Regions from separate parts of the Homo sapiens genome. Here region 1 is linked to region 2. The links are contacts of gene promoters, found by promoter capture Hi-C in blood cells and fetal thymus (Javierre and others, 2016). All regions are on one chromosome and are shown on one strand. The core of a region is centred on a gene start or on the middle of the fragment in contact, and the rest is flanking DNA. Distances in the headings are between cores, read along the strand shown.

Region 1 (4,623 bases), core at 142-2,641, 180 kb before region 2:
TTTCTTGGGAGGCTGAGACAGGAGACTAGCTTGAACCCAGGAGGCAGAGATTGCAGGTTCATGCCATTCTCCATATCAACTATAATACTTCCCGTTCAAGTCTGTGACTGTGCCATAATTTATGTGAACAGTCCCTTAGTGATGGTCACTTAGGTGTTCCCGTCTTTTGTTTTGCACATGCAGTCCTGCGGGGGGTCTGGTACCCTCATCTCTCTTCACTTTTGCCCAGGTGCAGGTGGCTCTGCAGGCTGCGTCCCTGGAAGTGGAACCGTTTAGTCAGAGGCTGCATATGCACTCAGAATGTCACAGGTTCTGCCTGGCTTTTCCCCCCGAGAAGTCATGGGTAGGATGACACCACTAGCACAGGGGTTCTCAGCCTCAGCACCCCTGGCATTTGGAGACGGATCATTCTTTTTGTTTTTCTGAGACGGAGTCTCGCTGTGTCACCCAGGGCGGAGTGCAGTGATGCAATCTGGGCTCATTGCAACCTCTCTGCCTCCCGGGTTCAACTGATTCTTCTGCCTCAGCCTCACGAGTAGCTGGGACTACAGGCGTGCATTTGCCATCACACCTGGTTCATTTTTGTATTTTTAGCAGAGACAGGGTTTCACCATGTTGGCCAGGCTGGTCTCAAACTCCTGACCTCAGGTGATCCACCCGCCTCAGCCTCCAAAGTGTTGGGATTACAGGCGTGAGCCACCACAACCAGTCTTGGATCCTTCTTTATTGTGGGGGGGGGGCCATCCTGTGCATTGTGGGACATTGAGCAGCATCTCTGGCCTCCACCAAAATGTTTCCAGTTGTTAACCAATGTCCCCAGGATAGGGGCAGGGGTAAAATCACCCCCTGCTGAGAGCCAGTGCCCTAGCGGCTTTGCCATAGCCTTCGCTGCGTACAGTATGTGTCGTCCCCTCTCATCTCCCCTCATGGCCCCCGTGATCCCAGCATGCCCACCAGGCTTCCCTGGAAGGTGGTTCTGCAGGTAGAAGGCAGAGGGGGTGAGACGGGGGCTGTGGTCACATACAGGGGGACACTCACCAGCTGTGTGGGCCTGGGCAGGAACATCACCTCCACACACCCTCCTACTTCCTTGTTTGTAAAATGGGATGACCAGCTACTCGGGAGGCTAAGGTGGGAGGATCACTTGAGCCTGGGAGGTGGAGGCTGCAGTGAGCCATGATCGTGCCACTGCACTCCAGCTTGGGCGACAGAGCGAGACCCTGTCTCAGCAGAAAATAAAATGGGATAAACAGAAGCTGCCTCCCTCGCCGGGAGCGAAGGGGGCGAGAACGCCAGCAAAGTGCTCGGCCTGGAGCTGGGGCTTAGGAGGAGGGTCTGGGAGCTGCAGGGTTGCCTTGTCCACCCTTCTGTCGGGGGAGCGATTGCGGGGTTCCCAAGGACGGACATGGGCTTCGTGTGCAGCCGCGTTCCTGCTTCTTTCCCATCCTGGTTTCTTTCTGGCCGTGGCCTTGTTTCTCCCACGTTGGGGGTGTGTGTCTCCTTTGCTCTAGAAGCCCGATTTGAGCTCCGCAGCAGGAATTATGTTTTGAGTTAGTGTGTCCAGTTGGTTGCTACTTTCTCGCCACTACCACCAGATGCTAAATTGGTGGGACGCAGGTGGGACCTCCACCAGGGTCCTCTCTGGCCACCCCAGGCCCCTGGGCCTGCACGGCTGCCCTGCACTGCTCAGCCAGGATCCACCTGCCTGCTGCCCGAGCTGCCCGTGGGAAGGGCACAAGGACAGACCCGTGTGGCCTTCCCAGGTGGGTGCGTGCTGTCTGCCGGGATGGGGCAGGTCGGCCACCAGCTGTTGACCTTGCTTTGAACTTGTTTACTGCTGTGTGAGTTCAGGGAATGACATAATTCCTGTCCAAGCTCCCTGGACTAAATTTAGGTCCCAGGAAAATAATTTTCCCTGGGTGAGTTCCAGCACCGCAGCGCCCAGAGAATCGGCTGCTGCCCTGAGCTCCTGAATGCTCTGTGGGTTCCAAGGCCAGTTCCCACCAAGCTCTAGGGCCTGGCTCTCAGGAGAGGCCTCTGCCGGGCACCTCTCTGCCCAGCACGGGTCAGCGTGAGTCTCTGGGTGACTGGCCACCTTCATGATTTCTAAGCCTACATCTGGGGCACCCACCTCCCCCACCACTCTGCAGAGCCTGCTGTGCCCGGCAGAAAAGGAGCTGTGGTCAGATCCAAAGCCACAGATGGGCAACTTTTCTAGTAAAAACTTTAAATATTTATGTTAAAGCAAACATTTATTATGAAATAGAGTATAACAATAACATGATTTCTCTCTCTCTCTTTTTTTTTTTTTTTTTTTTTTTTTGAGACAAAGTCTCACTCTGTCACCCAGGCTGGAGTGCAGTGGTGCGATTTTCCGCTCACTGCAACCTCCGCCTCCTGGGGTCAAGCGATTCTCCTGCCTCAGCCACCCGAGTAGCTGAGATTACAGGCACCTGCCATCACACCCAGCTACTTTTTATATTTTTAGTAGAGACGGGGTTTCACCATGTTGGCCAGGCTGGTCTTGAACTCTTGACCTCAAGTGATCTGCCTGCCTTGGTCTCCCAAAATGCTGGGATTACAGGTGTGAGCCACCACGCCTGGCCTGGCCTGGCCCCTCTCTTTTAAAAAAAAAAAATAAATAAACTAGAGATGAGATTTCACTATATTTCCCAGGCTGTTCACAAACTCCTGAGCTCAAGCTATCTTCCCACCTTGGCCTTCCAAAGTGTTGGGAGTACAGGTGTGAGCAACTACACCTGGGTGATTTTTCTTTTTATTGAGATGAAATTCACATAAAATTAACCAGGTTAAGTGAATAATTCACTGACAGTACACTCACAAGGTTGTGCAACCACCACTTCTATCTGGTTCCAAAACATTTTAATCACCCCAGAAAGAAACCTTGCACCCAGCCGCAATCATTCTCCACTTCTCCCTTCCCCAGCAACACTGGGTCCCTGCCCAGGGCAACCACGAAACTTTCTGTCTCCATGGGTTTGCCTATTCTGGACTTTTCATATAAATGGAATCATATACTCTGTGGCCTTTTGTGTCTGACTTCTCACTCAGCATAATGTTTTCTTTCTTTTTGTTTTTTTATTGTTTTGTTTTTTGTTTTGTTTTGTTTTGGAGACAGAGTCTCACTCTGTCACCCAGGCTGGAGTGCAGTGGCATGATCTTGTCTCACTGGAACCTCCGCCTCCTGGGTTTATGGGATTCTCCTGCCTCAGCCTCCCAAGTAGCTGGGATTACAGGCGCGCGACACCACGCCTGGCTTACTTTTGTATTTTTTTAGTCGGGGGGGGGGGGGGGTTTGCCATGTTGGCCAGGCTGGTCTCAAACTCCTGACCTCAGCCGATCCACCCACCTTAGCCTCCCAAAGTGCTGGGATTACAGGCGTGAGCCACCGTGCCTAGCCTGTTTTTGTTGTTGTTGTCGTTTTTTGAGACAGTCTTACTCTGTCGCCCAGGCTGGAGTGCCGTGGCATGATCTCGGCTCCCAATCCAGGAGGTGGTCCTGGGTTCAAACGATTCTCCTGCCTCAGCCTCCGAGTAACTGGGATTACAGGCGTGCACCACCATGCCTGGCTAATTTTTGTATTTTTAGTAGAGACGGGGTTTCACCATGTTGGCCAGGCTGGTCTTGAACTCCTGACTTCAAGTGATCCGCCTGCCTTGGCCTCCCAAAGTGGTGGGATTATAGGCGTGAGCCGCCGCGCCCGGCCAGGGCTCCTAGTCTGAGAAGTAAGTGTCAACCCTGCTCAGACTCCCTGGGAAGGAGGGTCTTGCTGTCCCGTTCCCCCGCCCTCTGTGTCCCGGCCTGTCCCAGGCCCTGCACTGTCTCCTTCTTCTTCCCATCTTGCCTGCTTGCTTTTAAACTTAAGCATGGGTTATTTTCCCCTTTGTTATTACTCTGCCTCAGAAACCCCAGCAGGGAAGTCTTGGTCGCACAGGCATTCTCTAGGATTCGTTTCGTGTGTGCTTTTTAACATCAGGGTACCATGGTGTCCGGGCCTCGGGTAGGATTTTTGCTGCCCCTTCACGAGTGTCTGGCTCTGTGTCCAGTAAGCTTTAGGAAAAACCGCTGCCGCCACTGCCTCCTCCCAAGCTGCACCCACCCCCCCGCCCCATCCAGCCTGCACCTTCCTTCTGCTAAAGAAAACTTGGGGTGGAGCAGCAGGAAGACAGGCATGAGAAATCACCCGAATAACTGGGTTCATTCTACTGGCGATTCCTTGATGGAATGGTGTGCGGCCATCTTGTAAGCTGTGATATTTAAAGAACCTTTAAAGACATGAAGAATTCCTCCGAAATACCACATGACCCCCATTTGGGAAGAGGAGAAAATTTGTACGCATGGAGGGAGGGGAAACTGGAAAGACGGGAATTAATCCTCTAAAACATTAGTGGGGTGGTCCCTGGGTGGTGACAGGTGATTTTTAACTTTATTTTTTCTGTACTTTTCTGTTTCCTGCAATGGTCAGTCATTGCTCTGGCAATCGGAAAAATACCCTTATTATTGTTATTATTTTGAGACGGAGTTTCGCTCTGTCACCCAAGCTTTAGTGCAGTGGCGCGATCTCGGCTCACTGCAACCTCCGCCTCCCGGGTTCACGCCATC
Region 2 (4,781 bases), core at 431-2,930:
TGTGAAAAGATGCCGGTACTGTGGGGGAAGGGATGGGAGCACTGGGAAAAACTATGGTAGCTTGTCTAATGCTTCACCGCCCACTTGAGACTTCAAGAGGACACGGTACACTAGATAAGAATCACTGCACACGACAGTACCTGTGCAATAGGAACCGCACACAGGGTTACTCCAAAGCCAATCGTCACAGTTTTGTGCCATGGTCTTATCAATTCTGAGAAACACCGCTTCTTAAAGTTAGCCACAACAGGAACACACAAACACTGTCTGTACCTGGAAGTAGAAGTCAGATTTCATAAGGCACGACCGCCAATCTGTAACAGGCTCTTGGATTTACTTGCAGGGGCTGTAAACTCAAACTCGAGCCAAGCAGGAACCTAAATGAGGATGCAGGACAGCTGAGGGGTTTTGAAATTTTCAACATACACCAAGTTTAAAATGTTGCCTCAGGCAGGGTGTTGGTGGCTCACGCCTGTAATCCTAGCACTTGGAAGGCCAAGGGCAAGGCGGGAGGATCACTTGAGCCCAGGAGTTCACGACCAGCCTGGGCAACATGGCTGGCAACATGACCCCGTGTCTATTAAAAAAAAATAAGTAAATAAAGGCCGAGGCGGGTGGATCACTTGAGGTCAGGAATTCGAAATCTGCCTGACCAACATGGTGAAACCCCATCTCTACTTAAAACACAAAAATTAGCCCGGAGTGGTGGCACGCTCCTGTAATCCCAGCTACTCGGGAGGCTGAGGCAGGAGAATCGCTTGAACCTGGGAGGCAGAGGTTGCAGTGAGCCGAGAGCGCCCCACTGCACTTCAGCCTGGGCAACAGAGCGAGACTGAGTCTCAAACAAAACAAAAAGAAAAAAAAAAATTAGCCGGGCGTGGTGGCGGGCGCCTGCAATCCCAGCTACTCGGGAGGCTGAGGCTGAGAATCGCTTGAAGCCGGGAGGCACAGGTTGCAGTGAGCTGAGATCTCGCCACTGCACTCCAGCCTGGGCGACAGAGGCAGATCTTGTCTCAAAAAAATTAAAATAAAATAAAATGTTGCCTTTAAACTTTTTAGAAACGGATGCCACAATAACCGCTCCTGCAGGCAGAATTTAGCTCTGGACCCCTGGCCTGGGTGCCAGTTGTGTGTGACGGTCCCGCTACAATCGCCCAGGAGCCTGCAGCGCTAGGTAGAGAGCCCTGCGCCAGCTCCCCCGGCCCCTTCTGCCCTCGGGAGGACGTCTTCAGACGCTCGTCTCCCTTCCCGGACTCCCCCCATGCCGTGTCCCTCCTCCTCTCCACGTCTCCTCAGGGACTTCGAGTGGCTGACGAGGGCTGGTCAGGAGGCGGAGCAGCCCCAAGAAGGCAGCCCGGGGTCTCGGGGACTCGTTTCTAGAAGATGGACGAACTGAAAAGGAAGCCGGGCTTGACCCAGGGGGCGGAGGCGGGGCTGTCCTCAGTCCTCCCGACCGGAGCGAGACGCCGCGACCCAGCTGGGCGGACGAGAGATGAGCGCGTAAGGAAGGCGGGCGCCGTGGGCCGGGCCACAGCGCTGTCCGCGTCGGTCCCTCCCTCTGGTCCTGTCCCCTCTACGCGGCCGCAGCGGTACCTGAAGAATGAAGTTACGCTGCGCGACAGCCAACTCTTCAGAGCCGCCATTGTGCAGCGCGCGGACGCCAGACGCACACGCCGGAAGTGACGCAGCTTCGTGAGCGCGGAGCGGGGCACGGCCTCCACCTGAGAGCGCCTCGCCCCATAGCCACGCCCCCACCCAAGGAAGCAGTCGGGATTGGGCAGGCAGGGGGAAAGGGGGCGAGGCTTAGGGCAAAGGCTGTAACGGCCGCGCAAGGCAACCAACCGCCGGAACTTCCGCGCGGGGCGGGGCATATGCAGGGCCTGAGGGCGCGGAGGTGGGTCCGGCGCGGAGCTGAGTCGGGCGCCGTGACGCTGGCGGGTGGGCGGGGACTCAGTTCGGGCCAGGGCTTGAAGGGAATTTCCTGGTGAGTTAGGGAGGCGGGGCCGGGCGGGAGGCGGGGCCGGGCGGGAGGCGGGGCCGGGCGCGGCGACGGCGCTGTCACTTCAGCACCAGGAAGTAAGTGGTCCAGCCGGCCAGCAGCAGCGCCCCGATGAGCACCGTGTAGCTGAGGAGCACGAAGGCGAGCAGCTCCCGCAGCAGCTGCAGCACGTGGACGGTGGACGAGGCCGGCATCGCGCTGCGCGGGAGCCCCAGGACGGTCGGCGGCCTGCCGGGCTGGCGCCGTCCCAGAGGGGCGGACGGGAACACACGAGGTCCTGGCCCTCGAAACAGCAAACGAAGGCCAGGAAGCCCACAGTGCCGACCTCCCCAACAGCCTCCTGGACGCTCGCTTCTCGGTTACACTGGAGAATCCTTCTCAACCCAAACTGCCCTCGTTCTTCGGCTCTGATCCGGGCTGAGGAGGCAGAAGCCCGGCTCTTCCCCGCGCCCCGCAGCTGCATGAGTTTTCCTCCCTGGCCCGCTCCTCCCACCACCTCCTGCATTTTTAATGCTGTGAGTGCCGCTAATGCGCTGGTGGAGTAAACCTTTCTTTTCCCGTCACTCAAGCTGCAGCCCCAGCTGCGGCCCTGGCTGGAAGGGGAAGGGGAGAGAGACCCATTTGGGCAGGAGGAAGGCACAGGCCCAAACCTGCTCTTCTGTGAGTCCCCTGGCCCCAAGGCTTGCCAGCAGCAGAGCTGGAGGATCTTTGCTTTGTGGTCCAGCATGCTTGCCTTCTGGCCAGCTGGGACTGCAGGGTGCCAGGTGGTGGGTGGGCATCAATCCGATCCTGGGCTCACCCCCGCCACCGTGCTCTGTGCATCTGCCCCAGCCCTGCTAACTTCCACCAGAGACGACATCAGACAGTAAGAACCCCACACCAGCTCATCAGACAGTAGGAACCCTACAACACCTCCAATGCTGCTTTGCCCAGCCACTCCCCACAGTGTCAGGCACTGGCTTCCTTCTCTCCCCACCTCACTTACTTGGCAAAGTTTCCACGAATCTTCCACCCTGAAGCTCCGCGGTTCTGTCTGCTCTGGTGCCCAAAGGTAGCTTGTGTGTATTCTGCGATCTCGGCAGAACTGAGATTTTCAAGCAGCGGCACTCAACAACTAGGTGTGGTCTAGAGACCAATTACAACCTCCGCGTGGTCCCCGAGCTCTCAGGGAGCTGCGCACAGGCGTTCCTAGCCCAGGCGGGGCGCTGGCAACCCTGCCCGCCCTCTGCCTGTGTCGCCACCACAGCCCACAGGGCTCAGATGTGGTTTCACAGACCCAGATGGGCTGAGCAGGCGGCACACTAGTGGGTATTTCAAGCCCCTTCTTGTTTTTTTCTGAACATTGTAAGGGGTTATGGGGTTATAGTGCGAACAGTTTCGTTTCTAACAAACACATTGAGAGCAGTCCCATCTCCTCCGAGTCTGGGCACCAGAAGAACCACTGGACAGTGTTCACTTGCGACCGCCCAACTACTAAAGCAAAAGCTGTTGTCTTAAAAAACATGCAAGTGCAAGCATGCACGGGTGTGAGAACCAAGCTTAAGTGACCGAGATCTCCTGAGTGCTTGATTCCGATTTACAAAGAGTTTTGCAGCTTACAGACTCATTATACAGATACTTTCCCAATGTGACACTTCCAATTTCACCTCCTCACAATGTGAGGCAAAAGGAGCCAGTGAGGATTTCTGCAAAGAACAGACACTTTCCCAGATGCAACAACAAAGGAAACGAAAGCATAAACTATGCTGCTTCTGATTATTTTGCTCGTTGCCGTAGTTTTTAGTTCAAGACTGTTTTCTGACCTTTGAAAAGAGCAGGCAGTGTGGACATCAACCCTTTTATCAACATCATCATCCAGAAGCAAATGGCTCCTTAATTTAATCAGGATCTCTTATTATCAAATTATTGCCTTGGCCACAGTGAGGCTGAAAACAGGAGCAGAACATTATCAAGCTGCTCAGGAAGCCAGTGAGTAGTAATTACTCCCCCAGAGAACTGGTCATCTTCCGTGTCCTACCTAGTGGCAACGGAGTACAGCTGAGATTTATACCCTCCTCCACACCAAAATAATGGATGAAACAGACAGGCTATTAAAAATAGGCCTGATTCTGTTCCCTTTTAACCCTCACATCCTTCAAATGGATGTCTCCAGGCAGTTAAGTGTTCTAGCCTTTGCGGCCCCTTGTTACCGCCTGATTTTGGGTGTTTTACAGCAACGGAGGAACTTAAGCAAAGAAACACTATGTGGCTTGAAATTCACACTAATCCATTTAGAAATAAAAGAATCTGAGAAATTTTAAATAATTGCCTTTTTCTTCTGTTGTCTGACAAAAAAGGTATCCTCTATTTTCTATAGGATGTCATCATTAAACCACGACTGAATATATCACAGTCTACAATAAATTCAGTCTAAAGAAGATCATCTATGTGATGTCTGCATTTTTTTGCCTCACCATCTTTATCATAGTCCCTCTTACTGTCTGCTTTAGACATCCAGTTCATTTTGATATTTTAAAAAGAGTATTTCAGCTGGTGTGGTGACTCACACCCATAATCCCAACACTTTGTGGGGCTGAGGCAGGAGGGCTGCTTAAAGCTAGGAGTTCGAGACCACCCTAGCCAACAGAAAATTAAAAAGATAATAAATTTAATGAAAAAGAAAAAAAGAATTATTTCTCTTGAGGCCAGGAGTTTGAGCAACAAAGACCCTGTCTCTAAAAGGAAGAAAAAAAAATTGCTGGGTGTGGTGGTGCTTTGCTATAGTCCCAGCTACTCGTGAGAC

The links. The method cuts DNA at HindIII sites, captures the fragments that hold promoters and counts their contacts. A CHiCAGO score of 5 or more calls a contact.
Region 1: a contact is called between a fragment that was not itself captured here and the fragment with the promoter of DIABLO in region 2, in 1 of 17 cell types (endothelial precursors). The highest score is 6.9, in endothelial precursors.

What each region holds. Positions count from the first base shown.
Region 1 is chr12:122,049,569-122,054,191 of GRCh38, forward strand. All of the region lies in intron 4 of BCL7A (BAF chromatin remodeling complex subunit BCL7A), which reads left to right. Among named protein-coding and RNA genes, the nearest start is that of LINC02985, 11 kb to the right of the region's middle. The HindIII fragment of the contact is 5,355 bases long and covers 1-4,069 here.
Region 2 is chr12:122,224,372-122,229,152 of GRCh38, forward strand. DIABLO (diablo IAP-binding mitochondrial protein) reads right to left here and starts at 1,681. Exons shown (of 6, transcript NM_001371333.1): 1 at 1,594-1,681; 2 at 141-273. The coding sequence starts at 1,643. LOC128125816 reads right to left here and starts at 2,193. Exons shown (of 1, transcript NM_001414998.1): 1 at 2,059-2,193. The coding sequence starts at 2,193. The coding sequence ends at 2,059. It overlaps LOC101593348 (a long non-coding RNA gene), which reads left to right and starts at 2,071. Exons shown (of 1, transcript NR_103497.1): 1 at 2,071-4,421. RefSeq lists enhancers at 83-988, 1,398-1,447, 1,458-1,697, 1,751-2,045, 1,995-2,826 and 1 more and a silencer at 1,988-2,127. The HindIII fragment of the contact is 3,750 bases long and covers 1-3,535 here.